3 separate regions of the Homo sapiens genome follow, and all the other regions are linked to region 1. The links are contacts of gene promoters, found by promoter capture Hi-C in human tissues and cell types (Jung and others, 2019). All regions are on one chromosome and are shown on one strand. Each heading gives the region's core, a stretch centred on a gene start or on the middle of the fragment in contact. The rest is flanking DNA. Distances are from core to core; before and after follow the strand shown. Region 1 holds the start of SLC6A13 (solute carrier family 6 member 13). Region 2 has its middle 9.3 kb from the start of WNK1. Region 3 overlaps B4GALNT3 (beta-1,4-N-acetyl-galactosaminyltransferase 3).

The links. The method cuts DNA at HindIII sites, captures the fragments that hold promoters and counts their contacts. A contact is called where the count stands out against the background at its distance.
Region 2: a contact is called between a fragment that was not itself captured here and the fragment with the promoter of SLC6A13 in region 1, in 2 of the 25 tissues and cell types used here (dorsolateral prefrontal cortex and liver).
Region 3: a contact is called between a fragment that was not itself captured here and the fragment with the promoter of SLC6A13 in region 1, in 2 of the 25 tissues and cell types used here (lymphoblastoid cells and spleen).

Annotation. Positions count from the first base shown.
Region 1 is chr12:261,359-264,294 of GRCh38, reverse strand. SLC6A13 (solute carrier family 6 member 13) reads left to right here and starts at 1,459. Exons shown (of 15, transcript NM_016615.5): 1 at 1,459-1,506. The HindIII fragment of the contact is 8,106 bases long and covers 1-2,936 here.
Region 2 is chr12:741,810-744,745 of GRCh38, reverse strand. No RefSeq gene overlaps it. Among named protein-coding and RNA genes, the nearest start is that of WNK1, 9.3 kb to the left of the region's middle. RefSeq lists an enhancer at 1,271-1,390. The HindIII fragment of the contact is 8,426 bases long and covers 1-2,936 here.
Region 3 is chr12:533,697-536,632 of GRCh38, reverse strand. B4GALNT3 (beta-1,4-N-acetyl-galactosaminyltransferase 3) reads right to left here. Exons shown (of 20, transcript NM_173593.4): 2 at 1,364-1,467; 3 at 338-415. Among named protein-coding and RNA genes, the nearest start is that of B4GALNT3, 75 kb to the right of the region's middle. RefSeq lists an enhancer at 1,699-2,198. The HindIII fragment of the contact is 4,738 bases long and covers 1-2,936 here.

The DNA of each region.
Region 1 (2,936 bases), core at 210-2,709:
CTTTTTTTTACATGAGTTTGTAGGCTGTCTCAGGACGCTTTTGGTTTATTGCTTTACAGAGCTCAGTCTAACAGATGAAAGCTTGAAAGGGGAGAGGAACAGGGGCCGCTGAAACATAAGAATAATAATTTCCAAGAAGCTTCTGGGAAGCTCTCCAGGTATTACCATGCAGTGTTTCCATGCCCCTACCCCATGCCCTTGAGTTAGATGAGGGATCAAGGAAACGGAAACTACCTTAGACTCTTCGATCCGTCTTTCTTTCCACACTTCTCCGTCATCTCAAGATGTCTCTATCACCTCACTCACTCATTGCCGCATCCCCTACCTAACTCATTCTCACAGTCTGGCCAGAGCCCAGCTTAGCTCAGGGGTCTCTCAGTCCCGTCTCCTTCAAGAAGACTTCCGGGCTCACTGCTCACTGTGAATAATCCCTTAAGGATGAATAACAGCTGCCATTTACAGTTAGTCATCATCTCCTGAAATCTCAAGCTAGACAGTGGCATACGTAGGACTCAGACCCCACACTCTCTGGTGTCAAAGTCTGAGCAGGTTTCCACTACATGTACTGTGCTTCAGCACATGGCTGAGGTGGGACTCTGCCCTGTCCTAGACTCCAGGCTGAATGAACTACTCTCACAGCCGCCTCTGTGGGCTGTTCCTGCAGAGAAACGAAGCTCCCTGGATGACCTCGGCCTCGCGCTCACCGCCTGCTCCTTCCCTTATAACAGCTTTAGGGCTTTGCTTTATTTTAAACGTTGGCACTTCCTTTTCTCTATTGATTTAAAAAATATTTTAAAATTCTAGCATATTAAAAAATCTAAACAATATTGAAAAAGTGGGGAAAAAATCTCCCTTACTGCCATCTCCTGATCTCAGTTCCACTCTACAAATGTAACTACTATTAATCATTTAGCGAAGATTTTTTCAGACTTTTTCTATATGTGTATAAATGTCTGTGTATGTTTGGGAAGTTTTTCTGACATCTCAGAGTTCTGTATCTATGTATCTTTGTTCTAAATCATCGTCCATTCCACATTGCAAGCTGCGAAACGGTAAGATAAATGTATTTTTAAATTAATCTACACAGCACCTGACCAAAGGAATACCTATTCTTGATGGATTTATAGGAGCACTTGTGTTGGAGACAGGGGTGGGAGGCAGGATCCCTCCAGAGAGACCCTGAGCTCACCAGGTGGGAAGCGCACATGAGCTCCGGGGAGGAGACCACACTTCATAAGCTCACCAGCAACTGGCCCGACCTGCCAGGGCGTGCACACTCCCCAGACTGCGAAATCACTCATGTGTGGGTTGTCCAGTGGCCGAGGGGAGGGGAGGGGAGAAAAGGGGAGGGGGAGGCACAAGGGTGGAATGTGGGCTGGGCCAAGTTTAGAATTTCAAGTGCCACAGAGGCGTTCTGGAACCACACTTTAAATAGCCAGCACCTTCTCCTTCCCCCTTAGATAATTCTTCTCCCCTGACTGGACCTCTGGCAGCAGCTTCACTAAGGTTCGAAATGTTTTCTTCTCTTTTTTTTCTATTTCTGCGTCTCAGACTGCAGGTTGGTGGGATCCATGGGACTTACAACCAAAGGACTTTTTTCTTACCCTCGCCTAGAAAGTACGCTTCTGACATGTATGTGTGCAAATGCAAAGATTATGTGCTATTTTCTTGACTTTCTGAAACTTGGGTGGCTGTTGACTTAAGTGACACTGTGATTTGGAAAGAGAGAGCCCTAGATTGAGAGGAAAGACAACTGGATTTAACTCCAAGAAAACAAAGTCTTTCTTCTCTGAGAAAAGAGAACAATGATCAACTCTGACAGGACTGAAAGAAAACAAAAATTTGAGTACCTGTTATTCTATTAAGTGTGTATACATATGTATATTTCCTCATTTAATTCTTATAGCTAAGTATATCCTATCTATCATCCCCACTTTTACAGATGAACAAACTAAGGCTCAGAGTCATTCATTAACTTCTCTGAAGTCAGACATTGGTATGAGAAAAAACTAATGTTTGAACCTGGCCTCATCTGACTCTACAGCTCATGACCTTTCAGACACAACATGCTACCTCTGAGAAGCAGCTCTAATGAGGCTAAGGGAGCCAGGAGAAGGCTACTGTTTCTCCTAGGGTCTGGGAGGGTGGAGAAGGGAAGGCTTTCCATCACTGGGAGAGATCCATCAGCTGGTAAAGGGAGGGGAGGCCAGCACAGTCAGTACCTTAGACAACCTTCCCAAAAGGACTGAGGAGCCCTCTTGGGACCAGTTACTTGAGTTTCTCCTTTGTAGAAAGGAGCTCATTCCCTAATTTATCAGATAAACATAGATGCCTGCTGTTCCCTGACTTTTTTTTTTTTTCTTTTTTTTGAGACAGAGTCTCGCTTTGTTGCCCAGACTGGAGTGCAGTGGCGCGATCTCGGCTCACTGCAACCTCTGCCTCCTGGTTTCAAGCGATTCTCCTGCCTCAGCCTCCTGAGTAGCTGGGATTACAGGTGCCTGCCACCATGCCCAGCTAATTTTTGTACTTTTCGTAGAGACGGGGTGTCACCATGTTGGCCAGGCTGGTCTCAAACTCCTGACCTCAGGAGATCCACCCGCCTCGGCCTCCCAAGTGCTGGGATTACAGGCGTGAGCCATTGCACCCGGCCTGTTCACTGACTTTCTAATTTTCTGGGTCAGAGCCAAAGTAGAGTCTGTGGCCAGAAGAGGTTACTGCTGAGAAAGTTCTGTTAACATGAACTTTGCTTGAGGCTTAGAAAAAAGTCCATCTGCCTCCTTCTCCAGAAAAGAGGCCACTCTGCAAAATCAAGGCAGAGTCATTAGAAGATGCTTTTAGTAGACACACCAGTGAACCTAGGCAGCCAATGTAATCAAAGGGATGGAACTGAAAGAGCAGGGGCAGAGTGGGTTTAAGTCCTGGCTGTGCAAGTTAGT
Region 2 (2,936 bases), core at 297-2,796, 480 kb before region 1:
AGCCACCACACCTGGCCTAAGCAAAGAATTTTTAGGTCTGGCTGCAGCGGCTCACATCTGTGATCCCAACACTTTAGGAGCCTAGGAAGATTACTTGAGACCGGGAGTTCAAGACCAGCTTGGGCAAAATAGCAAAACCCTGTCTCTACAGAAAATAAAAATAAAAGACTTTTTAGGACACAAAAAGCACAAACCATAAAAGAAAAAATTGTTAAACTGGACTTCATCAAAATTGGAAGTTCGTGTTCTTTTTTGTTTGGTTTGTTTTTTACAGAGTAGAGACAAGGTCTTCCTGTGTTACCTAGGCTGGTCTCAAACTCCTGGGCTCAAGGAATCTTCCTGCCTCAGCCTCCCAAAGTGCTGGGATTACAGGTGTGAACCACCGTGCCCAGCCAGAAATGTTTGTTCTTTAAAGATGATATTACAAAAATGAAAGGGCCACAGACTGGGAGTCAATATTGCAAAACAAATATCTGAAAAAATATTTGTAAACAGAATATATAGGAAACTCTTACAATTCAACCTTAAGATAATAGTACAGTAAAAATGTGTGCAAAAGATTTGAACAGATACTTCACCAAACAATATAAATGAAAGGATAAATAGGCACATGAAAAGATGTACATCATTAGTCATTAAGGAAGTGAAAATTAAAATTACCATGAAATATCACCACATACCCACGAAAATGACTAAAATTAAAAATGGTTGGTGAGGATGTAGAGCAACTAGTTTCTCATACGTTGCTACCGGGAGTACAGTGGTTCAGCCAGTTTGGGAAATAGCTTGACTCTCTAATAATTAAAGTTGAACATATACTTACCACATGATCTAGCAATTCCACTGCCAGATATTTAACCCAAGAGAAATGGAAACATGTCCACACAAAGACTTGCATGGAAAATTTCATAACAATTTTACTCATGATAGCCAAAAACTAGAAACAAACCGAATATCTATCAACTGGTGAACAGGCAAGTAAATTGTGTTGTGCCCTTATGATGGAATGCTACTCAGCAATAAAAATAAACGAAGTGGTATGTGCAATCATATGGATAACTCCCAAAGCATGATGCTAAATGAAAGAAGCCAGACACAGAAGTCTACTGATTTCATTTATGTGGCCATGTAGAAAACCCAAAACTGGCGGCAGAATGATCAGTTCTGGGGTTAGAGGGGGAGGAAATGAACTGCAGAGGAGCGCAGAGAACTTTTTGAGTCACGAGAATGTTTTCTGTCTTAATTTTGGTGATGGTTACATGACTGTATTCATTCAAAACTCATTAAGTGGGTGATTATACTTTTTTTTTTAAGGACAGGGTCTTGCTCTGTTGCCCAGGCTAGAGTGCTGTGGTGCAATCATAGCTCATCACAGCCTCAAATTCCTGGGCTCAAGGGATCCTCAGGCCTCAGCCTCCTGAGTAGCTGGGACTACAGATGCACACCACCATGCCAAGCTAATTTTTTTTTTTTCGTAGAGACGGGGATCTTGCTATGTTAATGATTATCCCAACTTGGTCTCCCAAAGTGCTGGGATTACAGGTGTGAGCCACCGCACCTGGCCCTGACTATACTTTAAATGGGCAATTTTTTATTGTATATAAGTTATTCTTCAAGAAATCAGATTTTTAAAATGATATTTAGTTGTGCCAAAATTATTGAAACATAATATTGAATTATTGAATACTCTATAAAGCATCCTATTCTGCTTACAAACTATTTGTCTCAATACCCAAGAGATATGAAACCTACCTGAAAAGTCTACATACACTCTATGGTAAAAATGAAAAAATGATATTACTAATTCAGTTTGAAAAACCTTTAAGCAATGGTCATTTTCATCCATTTCGATGGTTGGGAGGGATAGGGATAGCTATCAAGACAGATATTGAAAAGATTCTGAACATAATGTTCACCTGAGTACCTCCTTACCAGTAAATAGAAGGACAAGCTTCCCAACTCCTTATGATCTCTAAGAGTTTGCTTACATTATTTAGTCATTTATGATCAAGGCACATTCTGTATGCTACTTATATATTCATAATTTGACATTCAGTGATAATTTTTTGAATCTTTTTTTTTTTGAGACGGAGTCTTGCCCTGTCGCCCAGCCTAGAGTGCAATGGCGCAATCTCAGCTCACTGCAACCTCCGCCACCCAGGTTCAAGCAACTCTCCTGCCTCAGCTTCCCGAGTAGCTGGGATTACAGGCACCTACCACCACGCCTGGCCGATTTTTGTATTTTTAGTAGAAATGGGGTTTCACCATGCTGGCCAGTCTGGTCTCGAACTCCCGACCTCAGGTGATCTGCCCACCTCGGCCTTCCAAAGTGCTGGGATTACAGGCGTTAGCCACCGCGCCCAGCCAATTTTCTGAATCTTAAGATAATTTTACTGAACATACTTTGCTTAATTAACCTCTACAGTCAGGTTAATTCTGTAACCAAAAAGAGTATTTAGCAAATTCAACAACAGCAATAATATTATCATCTTCCAGCGTCTGCCTGTGTTTGGACCAATTGAAGATATGGTAAATTGACTCCCTTAGAATAGCTGGGAATTAGGAAAAGAGTGCCAAACTCTATAGCAGGTAATACTTCTCAGTAGATAGAAGTATACATTCTCTTAAGACAGTAATAATACTCTTTAAATAGTAGTCTCGGCCAGGTGCAGTGGCTCACACCTGTAATCCCAGCACTTTGGGAGGCCAAGGTGAGTGAATCACCTGAGCTCAGGAGTTCGAGACCAGCCTGGCCAACATGGCAAAACCCTGTCTCTACTAAAAATACAAAAATTTGCTGGGCGTGGTGGCATGCACCTGTAATCCCAGCTACTTGGGAGGCTGAGGCGGGAGAAGTGCTTGAACCCGGGAGGCGGAGTTTGCAGTGAGCTGAGATTGTGACACTGCACTCCAGTCTGGGCGACAGAGCAAGACTC
Region 3 (2,936 bases), core at 196-2,695, 270 kb before region 1:
TGCCCACCTGTAATCCCAGCTAGTCAGGAGGCTGAAGCTGGAGGATCGCTTGAGCCCAGAAGTTTGAGACTAGCCTGGCCGACATAGTGAGACCCCTTCTCTAAAAACAACAACAACAAAAAACTAACTGAATAAATAATTTAAAAATTTTTTTAATTCACTAGTAGAAAGTTTTCTGTGATCTCTGGAATTATCCATAAACATTATTTTTTAGCTCTCTCAAAGAGTAGGTACGGTAGAAGGTCCCTAGTAGAAAGTTTTCTGTGATCTCTGGAATTATCTGTAAACATTATTTTTTAGCTCTCTCAAAGGGCAGGTACAATAGAAAGTCCCTCACCTCTGAGAGCCAGGGGACAGGCTTGTTCCACTTCAAGTAGCTGCTGTTACTGCTCACCCCTTGGTCAATGTCGTGGTCCTAGGGGAAGAATGAAGAACGAAGTTGGTAGGAATATTAGGATGAGAAGCTACGGGCAGGACAGGAGGCACAGTGCCTGCTCCCAGGAGGCGTCGGCTCGGAGCACGCTGCCGTCTGTCATTCACACCATGTCCTGGGAATACATCTCCATAGTTTCATCAGCGCCTGCTCCTCGGGTTCCTTCACTTTTCTGAATTTTCTGTCCTCCCCATATGGGAAAGCAGTTTACCCTCTTTAGGTCAGGACCTCTTGAGGGCAGGGACCTCGGCTCCCTCTTCCTCCTTATCCCCCAGCTGTATAGATTTGGGTTCCAACAAGTGGGAGCCCCTCAGGGACACCACCAAACCCTCCCTATTGTGCAGGTCCACAGGTTCAGTTTGGCTCTGGTCCAGCTCTGGAATCCATGTCTGTTCTAGGCTCAGCCTTGGGGCTCCTGAATGAATTAGACCCCAGTTTCTCTAATCTGCCTCCTTAGGGACCATTGGTTCAAGAAGCACTGCAGGCAAATGCTCCACCACAAGTCTGTACTCCCAGCTACGGGCAGGGAGGGGTGTCCATCCACCTCGTCACCTCTGATCTCAGCAGCAAGCACAGCACAGCCCAGCCCTCACCCTAGTGAGAGGCACCACATGCCACTGGTGATGGAGGTCGCAGGCCCGGAGTGGTTCCGGCACGGGCAAACTGAACTAGGGAACGAGGGCAGACACCAGAAAACCAGGCCCAGTGGCAGCCCCAGTAAAAGTTTCCTTTTACTGGCTTTGAGGAGGCTGGATGGACATCTCTAAGGCTCAGCTAGGAGGTCCTGAGGCCAGACTAGGACTCTGGGGGCTGTTTATCCTCTGCCTCTCCTCCCAGAGTAGCAGAGGTTACCCTTAAGGCAACTGGGCAGAGCACCTGCGGACCTTTGTTAAGGCATCAGCAGGGACAATGGACTGGCTGGTCACCTACCTCGAGGCTCAGCCTCTGGGGATGGTAGAACTGGAGGTGTGGATCCACAGCTGGAATGTTCCTGCTGGCCAGAGCCTTGGCCAGTTCTCTCCAGCTGCCGTACCCTGTGGAAGGGGAAGAGAGGAGCCCTCAGGTCAGCGTAACCTGGAAACCTCATACACCTAAAAGATTTGGGAGGTTAATGGAGGGAACCGTCTTCCCTTCTCACCTCTCTTCAGAGGGTGGGTGGGAAGAGGGCTGGGCTGGGGGCAGGAGATAGCTGCAGACTGGCCAAGGCCCACAGGGCAGAGAGAGGAGATGAGCTTACATCCCATCAGCAGTCACCGCCTTCCAGAAACCAGAGAAGGAGCCAGTCCAGGTGAGCCTGGACCACGGGCCTCCCACTACCAGCTCGTTCTCCCCCGGCTGCCTCTGGAGGCCAATTTATCCCGAGAGCTGCCGTGGAGAGATGGTCGTGACAGGCGGTACACTCTTCCCTTCCTGCTCAGTTTCTGTGCCCTGAGCCCGGGGAACAGCAGAGGCTTACTAATGGGTGGGGACCCCCTACCACTGATCACTGGGTTGCTGGATAGAGCCGGAGCTGAGAGAGGCAGGAAAGAGTGGGCCTGGGATGTGATGTCTGTCAAACAAAGGTATAAACCACTGGAGATACAAGATCAGAGGCCCTGCTATTACTGGAGTCACCGGGAGGCTGCGTGTGGCTGACGCTGTCTGTACCCTGAAGGCTCTGGACCAGGTTGGCTTACACGCACCTGGGAAGGCAAAAAGCCAAACCATGGCGAGAGGGAGGGAGGGAACAGGAAACTGGGGGGTGCACGCGCATTCACAAGTCAGGAGGCAAGGGGCTGCACCAGGGTGAGGGCCGGGGAGAATCAGTCCGGCGGCCGGCCACTGCTGACACTCCCGAGGGCTGGGACTCCCATCTCAGAGGAGATTGCTGGGCTTTGGATAAGTGGAACCAAACCACTGTTAGTCACAAACCAGAACCGTAGACCACTGGAAGCGAAAGAGGCTTTTGAGATCACCTCATCCTCCCTTCAAGTGAGGAAAATGGGACCCACACTGGTCAAATGGCTGATCAAGGCTCACTTAGCAAGTAGTGGCAAGGCTAAGACTAGGACCCCAGTGTGCCACGGATTTCCACTGAGCTCCCCTTTCCCTCAACAGCTTCACCACGATGTCCCCAGGATGCTGCGCTGGGCACTGCTTAGACGGAATTAGCCTGACAGTCCCCGACCCCTGGGAGCCAAGAGTCGACAGTAGGCAGAAGTGTCACAGAGGAACCCCTACGTGAGCACCAGCAGAGACACAGACAGCCACGCAGACACAGAACACAGAGCACCACCCACGAATATGGGCTTCACCGAAGGTGGCCACCCACGCTATGCACGAGTGTTTCTGTAACAGGCCTGGGGAGGGGTGGGATCAGGGGCTGCACGCTGAAATGCAGGTGTGGGGTGAGAGTGCTTTTCTTACATGATTATGCTTTGTGTGGGCCCTTTCGGCTTACTGAGTGTCCCACAGGCGTGATTTCATCTGAACCTTCTAAGAACCTCCTGAGAGGCCAGCTCCA